3 separate regions of the Homo sapiens genome follow, and regions 1 and 3 are each linked to region 2. The links are contacts of gene promoters, found by promoter capture Hi-C in blood cells and fetal thymus (Javierre and others, 2016). All regions are on one chromosome and are shown on one strand. Each heading gives the region's core, a stretch centred on a gene start or on the middle of the fragment in contact. The rest is flanking DNA. Distances are from core to core; before and after follow the strand shown.

What was found. Contacts are between HindIII fragments. The CHiCAGO score rates a contact against its expected background, and 5 or more counts as called.
Region 1: the fragment with the promoter of FGF4 here is called in contact with the fragment with the promoter of ANO1 in region 2 in 11 of 17 cell types (endothelial precursors, naive CD8 T cells, M0 macrophages and 8 more); the score reaches 12.7 in endothelial precursors.
Region 3: the fragment with the promoter of FGF3 here is called in contact with the fragment with the promoter of ANO1 in region 2 in 4 of 17 cell types (neutrophils, M0 macrophages, total CD4 T cells and 1 more); the score reaches 7.4 in neutrophils.

The regions. Positions count from the first base shown.
Region 1 is chr11:69,773,893-69,776,592 of GRCh38, forward strand. It overlaps FGF4 (fibroblast growth factor 4), which reads right to left and starts at 1,449. Exons shown (of 3, transcript NM_002007.4): 1 at 853-1,449; 2 at 132-235. The coding sequence starts at 1,192. RefSeq lists enhancers at 1-348, 2,198-2,700 and promoters at 1,338-2,450, 1,338-1,733. The HindIII fragment of the contact is 22,710 bases long and covers 1-2,700 here.
Region 2 is chr11:70,076,950-70,079,649 of GRCh38, forward strand. It overlaps ANO1 (anoctamin 1), which reads left to right and starts at 1,368. Exons shown (of 26, transcript NM_018043.7): 1 at 1,368-1,765. The coding sequence starts at 1,658. The HindIII fragment of the contact is 4,637 bases long and covers 1,072-2,700 here.
Region 3 is chr11:69,818,103-69,820,802 of GRCh38, forward strand. It overlaps FGF3 (fibroblast growth factor 3), which reads right to left and starts at 1,314. Exons shown (of 3, transcript NM_005247.4): 1 at 612-1,314. The coding sequence starts at 831. It overlaps LOC107984368 (a long non-coding RNA gene), which reads left to right and starts at 606. Exons shown (of 3, transcript XR_001748071.2): 1 at 606-971. RefSeq lists promoters at 929-1,766, 1,177-1,323. The HindIII fragment of the contact is 14,087 bases long and covers 1-2,700 here.

The DNA.
Region 1 (2,700 bases), core at 199-2,698, 300 kb before region 2:
CGGTCCCGTGACCTGGTGACCCTGCCACCCCTCCAAGACCCAGGCACAGGTGGGGCTGGAGAAGCCACGAGCCTGCTAGCCATGTCCGCTGTTCCCAACTAGGTGCCTAGCCAGACCCCTGCGGTACTCACCGAGCCATAGAGCTTGCCCTTGCTGCTCATGGCCACGAAGAACCGGCTGGCCACGCCGAAGATGCTCACCACGCCCCGCTCCACGGGCGAGAGCTCCAGCAGGCCTGGGGGCGGGGCGCAGGTCATTGCGGGGCAGGTGATCCCTGGCCCACTCCGCCCCTCGGCTTGTTCGCCTCCGGGGACCCTATTTCTGGGGTGGGGTTGGGGATAAAGGGCCAGGGTTCCCGGCGCAGCCGCCCCCAAGGGCCTCCAGAGCCCAAGCTGCCCTCTAGGGCCTCCGGAGCCCAAGCCTGCGCTAGCTCAGATTAGCTTGCCTGTGTAGGGGACCCCCGGCGGCCGCACCCAGTCCCGGACCTTCAGACGCGAGCCCGACCCCAGCGGTTCCCCAGCCTGGGCCAGGCCGGGGCGCGTGTCTCGGGCCCCCTGTGGCTGCACCGCGCGCCCTGTGCCCACGGGCGAAGGCGCTGGAATTCGGCGCTCGGAGCCCGAGTTTCTGAAGGCGGGAGGCGGCGCCCGACCTCAGGGGTTGCGCTGGGCTGCCGGAGCCAAGAGTGTCTGCGTCCCCAGCCCCGCGTCAGAAGGGACCGGAGCCCGAGTCCGCCCCGGTTCCCGGGGCCCCCGAGCAGGTGCCCGCCGAGGGTCTCAGAGTGTGACTGAGCGGGTTGGCCCGGCGGCCGTTGCCCCCCGCCCCCGCCCCTTCGCGCCTGGCCGCGCCACTCACTGTCGCGGGTGTCCGCGTGCGCGCCGCCGATGCGGCCGTCGGGGAGCGCCTGGAGGTGGAAGCCGATGCCCACGTTGCAGTAGAGCCGCCGCAGCCGCTTGATGCCCAGCAGGTAGTCGCCGGCGCCGCTCTGGACGGCCGCCTCCTTGGGCTGCGCTGCCACCGGCAGGCGCGCCAACGAGAGCGCCACCAGGCTCTCCCAGCGGCGCTCCAGCTCGGCCTCCAGCGTGCCGTTGGGTGCAGTGGGTGCGGCGGCGCCCCCTCGGCCCGCCCAGGGCGCCAGCAAGGCCAGCAGGACCGCCGGGAGCAGCGCTACCGCGGCCGTCCCGGGCCCCGACATCCCGGCCCGAGGGCCGTGCGTCGGTCAGGCGGTCAGTGCGCCCGGGAAGCTGGGGGGCAGAGCTGCGCCTGTGGCGTCCCGCGGGAGCGCACGGCCGACCTCGGGCAGGAGTGCGCAACCGAGGAGGTGCGGGAGGCAAGCGACGGGGCCCCCGGGCGCCGGGCTCTACCCCGGCTGCATGGAGCGGCGAGCCGGGCGGAAAGCGCGCGGCTGGAGCTGGGACTCTGAGGAGCAGTGCGCGCCTCCCTGAGCGCCAGGCCCGCCCGAGGCCGAGCCGCTATATATATAGCCCGGCGCCCCCTCCTACTCGCCCGCTCCCGCGGGGGGCCGTTCGCGTTCTCCTGGGCGCCCGGGGCGCTGTGGCGTTCGCGGCTGGTCGCAGGCCGCCTGCCAATCAGGGCCGGGGGAAGGGAGGAGGCTGGGGACTAGCGCCGCGAGTGCCACCTGGAGGGACCCCGGCCCCCACCCTTGGCTCCGCCCGGCCCACGGACCTGTTCGTCCCGCCCCTTGGCGGCTCCTACACTTCTGCTTTTCAGCCAGTTTTGCCTCTTGCACTTTGTCCCTGCCTGTCCCCGTCCCCGTCTCCCTCTCTGCTCCGGCCGCCTTGGCGCAGCCCTAACTCGGGCATCCGAAGCTCCTAGTGGGCGCAGAAGCCAGCGGCTGCTGCCTGCCCTTCGCCTTTCGGAGGCTCACGGGAACTTGGTTCCTTTGCTGGGGCCTTGAGGACCGGCCTGGGAAGGAGGGGTGGATAAGAGCAGTAAGCGACACCGGGGCCTGGCTGGGCAAGGGAGGACCCTTTGGCTACAGGCGGGAGGGAGGCCACCCCCACCCCCTAGGTCTTGGCCCCACAGGCTTGGCGCGTTTCTGGGCTGGAGTTCTGAATACCTGGTGGAGGTCCACCTGAGCCAAAGGGCAAGGTGGCAGAGATGCACCCAGGGAGGCCTGGTCCTGCACCCCCTACACACACACCCTTCCGTGAAAGGACAGGTAGCAGGGCATAGGGCCAGAGGGGATATTCAGCATCCCCTGCTCCTTTGATTCCACAGCAGAAATATCCATGTACCATAGCCAGAGCCCTCAATCTAGCAGGGACCCAGGCCAGGCCTCTGGAAGCCTCCCCTCTCTCACTCATGGTTCTACCTCCCACTGTGCCCATTATGGCCTGATGGGGACTGTCCTAGCTAGATGCAGGCCCACCTAGGTGTGAAAACCCCTGTTCTTTGTGGTCCCTGAGGAGCCTGCCTGGCCCTTCCTGCAGGCCCGCCTAGCCACAGCTGCAGGGGGCTTGGTGCCTACCCCATCTCTCATACCACCAGCACCTGTGACCAGAGATGTCCCCAGGCCACCGCAGCCTCCTCCACCTCCACCGCATCCCCACAGGGAGATTCCTGGGACCCCTTCAGAACCCTGCTGGGGCTTATTCGTGCCCCTGGAGGGGACCTGGGAGGCTTGAGGGCTCTTCTCTGAGGTGCAGAAAGGGGGGCACTTGGGGGTCATCAAGTGGCTTT
Region 2 (2,700 bases), core at 118-2,617:
CAGAGGCTCTGAGGCCCAGGAGGCTCTGAGGCCAAGGAGGCTGGCACAAGGTCACAAGGCTGGAAGGTGCCAGAGCTGGAGCTAGACCCCACCCCTTCTCTCCAACCCTATCCTAGCTGACTCCAGGTTCCATGCTTGGAACCATGGCACGCTGACGACATCGTGGCCTTTAAAGACAATTTTCTAATCACTTCTGTAGGCCTTGAATGTTCCCCAGTGGCCATTTAACAAGCAATTATTGAGCATCGGCTGTGTGAACCTGGTAGACAACCCACTGTAAAATGAGACGGAATAAATGAAGTGCTAGTTGGGGTTCAGGCAGGTTCTTTGGATAGACAGGAAGGCCTGCATATTTGGGTGGGAAGGGGACAGTAGGGGAGAATCCAGCAGGACTTCCTGCAGGAGGTGCTATCTGATGCACACCGTGAAGAACTCATAGGATGTGAGAGGCAGAGGGACACTTTATTTCCACTGGATGTGGTGGCCAGCATGGCCCCTGGGGCTTAACCTGAGTATGGTCGTCCCCTGGGGACCTGCCTTATTCTCCTTAGGGGAAGAAGACTTGAAGATCTGCAGTGTGCCAGACCCCTGCTAGGTCCGGGGGTAAGAGAGATCAAAGCCACCATCCCCCCCGCTCCGCCCCTCCAGAAAGCAGGACAGCCTTGCCCAGCAGTGGGGAAAGCTCTGCAGGAGCCCCGCCCCACCTCAGAGGATGCGGACTGGTCCTTGGCCCTCCTAAGCCTGAGTGTCCTCTGCAAAATGAGGACCCGCATTCCAACCTTGCAGGTGCGGGGTTAAATGAGATGATACACACTCACGCCCTACATCAGGGACGCTGCACGCACCTGGGCACAGAACACTAAGCACTCCGTAAACTCGGGGGCACCGGTAACATCAGTGGGCTCCAGGGAGATGACTGCCCCGGGAGAGACTCCCCCAGGAGCGCGGGCAGCTGGAGGGGGCGGGTCGGCAGGAACCAGGCAAGCTCCCCGGAGGAGGTGAGTGCTGAGTGACAGCAGGAGTTTGCCAGGGTGGAGGGAAAGGGGCAGAGATCCAGACTCCAATCTCAGAAGCTTCACTCCCCCCGGAGGCGGAGGTGACGCGCCACAGAAGCGCCTGCCACTCGGGGACTTTATTTCAGGTGGGGCTATTGAAAGTTCCCCCCTTTCACACCCGGTATGAAAACCCTCAAAAATCCAAAGGGGCACTTTCCCTGGATAAAAATAAAACTTGGAGGGGCCCGCAGGAATGGAATACTTTTTCTTCCTGTGTTTAAATTTCTACGGAAAATCTGACCGGCGCGGCCACCGCCCCTGCCATAGGCGGGCGGAGAGCGCTTATATCTTTAAGGCAAAGGCGGGCCGGCTGGCGTCCAAGTTCCTGACCAGGCGCGGGCCGGCCCGCGGGACCAGCAGCCGGGTGGCGGCGCGATCGGCCCCGAGAGGCTCAGGCGCCCCCCGCATCGAGCGCGCGGGCCGGGCGGGCCAGGGCGGCGGGCGGAGCGGGAGGCGGCCACGTCCCCGGCGGGCCTGGGCGCGGGGAGGCCCGGCCCCCTGCGAGCGCGCCGCGAACGCTGCGGTCTCCGCCCGCAGAGGCCGCCGGGGCCGTGGATGGGGAGGGCGCGCCGCCCGGCGGTCCCAGCGCACAGGCGGCCACGATGAGGGTCAACGAGAAGTACTCGACGCTCCCGGCCGAGGACCGCAGCGTCCACATCATCAACATCTGCGCCATCGAGGACATCGGCTACCTGCCGTCCGAGGGCACGGTGAGTGCGGGCGGCCGCGACCCGGGCGGGAGGGCCGCGCACCTGCGCCTTGGCGAGGGCGGGAACCGGGCGGCGGCAGGGCCTCCTGGGACCCCAGGGCGGGGGCCGCACCCTCCGCGCAGGGTTCGCGGCGCCCACCCGCGCACGTGCGTGCCGGGAAGGGCGCGCCGGCCCTGGCCAAGTGCGTGCGCCCCGCCTGCGCTCTGAGCGTTCCGAGCGCGGCGCCCACTCCGCCCAGCGCAGCGCCGGGCCCCCAGGCATGGCCCGGCCTCGGAGCTCTGCGGCCCCGAAGCCGCCTCACCCGGGGCTGCAGCTCGGAGCCCAACCAAGAGCTCACGGCTGGCGCCCTGGATGGGACCTTCCCTTCCTGGCTCGCGGCCAGGGGTACCTGTTGGGGCAGCCAGGGTGAGGGTGATGGTGGGGGTCTTGGGTGAAGGCCAAGTTGGTCGCCACTCCACGATGATGGTAACTGCCAGGCCCCACTGCTTCACTATCCTCTGGGGCCAGAGTCCCGAGTCCTCACTTGCCAGAAACGCATATTGTGCCCAGGGCACTGGGCCTGGTACCCTGGCATTGGCACCGAAACTCTCAAAGCCCAGGGTGTCAATCATTGGAGATTGCTTTCTACCCTCGCCCCTGTCTCCCCTGGGCGCCCAGGCCTGGTTCAGGTGGGGGCACTGGTTGGAAGCCAGTCATGTAAGTTGGGGACCCCATCCTGAGGTCCCCAATATCCCCACCACCCTCCCCAGGGCCAGACCCAGAGGTCTAGGTAACCCTATGTTTTAGAGAGGGGGGCAGAATTCTCCCAGGAAGGGTTTGGCTTGAAGGACAAAGTTTGCCGGAAGAGGATAGGACAGGGCTGGGACTGGCTATCTCCTCTTGGGGTGAGGGAAGCTCTCAGCAGCAATTTGTGGGACCTAAGGACAGAAGCTCCC
Region 3 (2,700 bases), core at 64-2,563, 260 kb before region 2:
CGGTGGCGGCCGCGGCCAGGGAACCGAGCTCCGCAGGGCAAGAGTCCTCCGCGCAGAGGCAGCAGCGGGGGCGGCCACCTGGGCAGCCGCGAGCGGGGAGGGCGGAGGGGACGGCGGGGCGTCCAGGGGTCGGCAGGAGGAGGAGAAGTCGTCAAAATAATAAAGAGGATGATAAATGCCTTGTCCGGCTCCTTTTCTCCGACACATTCAAAGGGCTTAAACTTGTCAGAGCTGCCCAAAGCAGCAGAGCCTGGAGCCCCGGGGTCGCCTAGCTCGCGTCCCCTCAGACCAGCGGGCCGGACCGGGGACGGACTCTGACAGCCGCCGGCGCCCTCTTCGGACGTGAACGCCCATGCCCCCGAGTTCTGCTCGAACCCCAGCGCGCGCTCTTCTCCCGGACGTGTAGGTTGAGGAGGGCACCCTGGCATTCCCCTTCTGGCAGCGGGAGGCAGACGGTCTTTTCCCGGACACCCCGGGCGCACCATGCCTTCTCCCGGGCCAGACCCCTCCCCGGCGCCGCCTCCCCCGCGGGGCCCCGCAGCGCGCCTTCTCCCGGGCCCGACCCCTCCCGGCGCCGCTTCCCCCGGGGCCCCGCAGCGTCCGGCACTCACTGTAGGCGCTGTTCTCCAGGCTGCCGTTGACGCGGCCGCTCGGGTGCAGCTGGAGGTGGTACTTCGTGGCGCAGTAGAGCTTGCGGCGCCGGGGCGCCCCGCCAAGGTGCTCGTAGACGCCGCCACGGCCGCCCGCATCGCGCCGCAACCGCGCCCCAGGGCCCGCTGCGGGCCAGCCGGGCTCCAGCAGGCTGAGCAGTAGCAGCCAGATTAGGCCCATCGTGGCATCGCGCCCGCCCCGCGGCGGCGGCGGCTGCAGGCGAGCGCGGCGCCCATGGAAGGGGCGGCAGCCGGACAGCTGCGAGGTGCTCGGAGCGGGATCCCGCGCCTGGAGATGCTGACTCCGGCTTCGCGGGAAAGGTGGGGGAAGAAGGGGGAAGGGTGGGCGAGAGAGAGAAAGAGAGGGAGAGTGGGAGAGGGAGAGGGAGAGAGGGAACGCGAGTCCCTTTAATTTCCACCCAGGAGCAATGAAATTTCCGTTGCTGCGCAAAGCGCTGAAAGAAAGGACGGTTCGCCAACAAAAGGCCGACGTGGTCCCCAGGCGGAGGCGCGGGAGGGGCGGGAGGCCGGCGGGTGGGGAGCCCCGCGGGGCTCGGGGTTCGGGCCGGGCGCCGTCTGCATACACTCGCCGCCAGCGCACCGCCGTCGAGCCGCGGCTCCGCTCCGCAGCGCGCCCCACGCCCCCGAAAGCCCTCCTGGCTCTGAAAGGTCCCCTACCCGCCCCTCCCCCGCCCCCTCCCCCAGACCAATTATGCCTCCGAAAATTATAGACCGAGGCCTTGAGGAGGCCGCCCCAGGCCCTGTCACCCCCTCCCGCTCCCCATCAATCCCCCTGCACAATGGGGCCGCCGCCGATGACTGATGTCCGTGAAAACAACTTGCGGGGAAGTCGAGCTGACAAACGCCCATTAAAGGCGGCGCATAATGAAGGGGACCGCGGAGGGCGGCGGCAGGGAGGCTCCGGGGCGCGGGCACGCGTGGGGAGCTCCGGGTTTGTGTCTGCGCCCGGCGCTTCCTGCAGGAGCAGTGGCGCTGTCCTCAGCCTTGCAAGGCGCGGGGCAGGCCGGGTCTGGAGATGCTATCTCCTTTTGCGCACACCAACTGGGCACCCGGAGTGGTGGGGTTAGCTCTCGTCTGGCAGGCCTCGGAGGATCCCGTCCCAGTGACGGTCCAGAGAGGGGCCTGGGGAGGCGGGAGGAGGGACGCGAGAGCCAGAGAAGTGGGCGCCGACAGAGAGCCCTAGAGAGAAAGAGATGCAGATAGAGACAGACAGAAACGGAGGAGGAAAGGACGGGAAAGACATGGAAAATGTGAATGACAGAGATCGCCAAAAAGAGGAGGCAGGGGAGATGGAAAGAAGACAGAGCCGCGGAGAACACCCAGAGAAAAGCACAGGGAGTCTGGTAGCCACAGCGGGTGGGTGATGACAAGAGGAACCCGGTAGAAGCTGGGAATGGGTGTGGGGGAGTCCTGGCCTGGAGGATCTGAATCAGTGCAGATGCCCAGGTGGTCCCCTGGACTGTGTGGGGGTCAAGGTGTATCTCAGGGGGCCCAGTGAAGAGGGGCTTCAAAAAGTATCGGGAAAAGCCATGTCCCCACCCATTTCTCTTGCTTCCTGGTCCTCTGTCCCCCAGGGTCCTGGGGCCAGCAGGAAGCAGGGGCCAGCACAGGGGATTTGCTTCTCTCAACCCTGCCCCAGAGGAGGGCACGCTGTGGAGTCCAGGGGTCTAGGCCACAGCTTTGGCTCCAAGTTGACCAGGGGCTCTGGGGTGAGTTGGGTGGGCTGACATTCCCCAGCCTGCCATCTGCATCAGGGTTTGGGGTCAGGCAAGTGTGCAGGGCACCATGAGCTGTGGCAGTGAGCACACACCCCTGGGACGTGTCCAGCTCCCATGGCCCAATACACACAGGGCAGTGTGTCCTCTGTGAGCCCACTCCAGCGTGCACAGGGTCCAGGTGGCCATCCTGAAGGAGGGCGCCCCCAAGCCATCCCCGAGCACCTCAGTCTTAGTCAGGGTCTCCTAGCCGCTGCCCCAGGGCCAGCTTGTGAGAGTCCTTGAACAGGCCAGAGGCCAGCCACTGAACTACT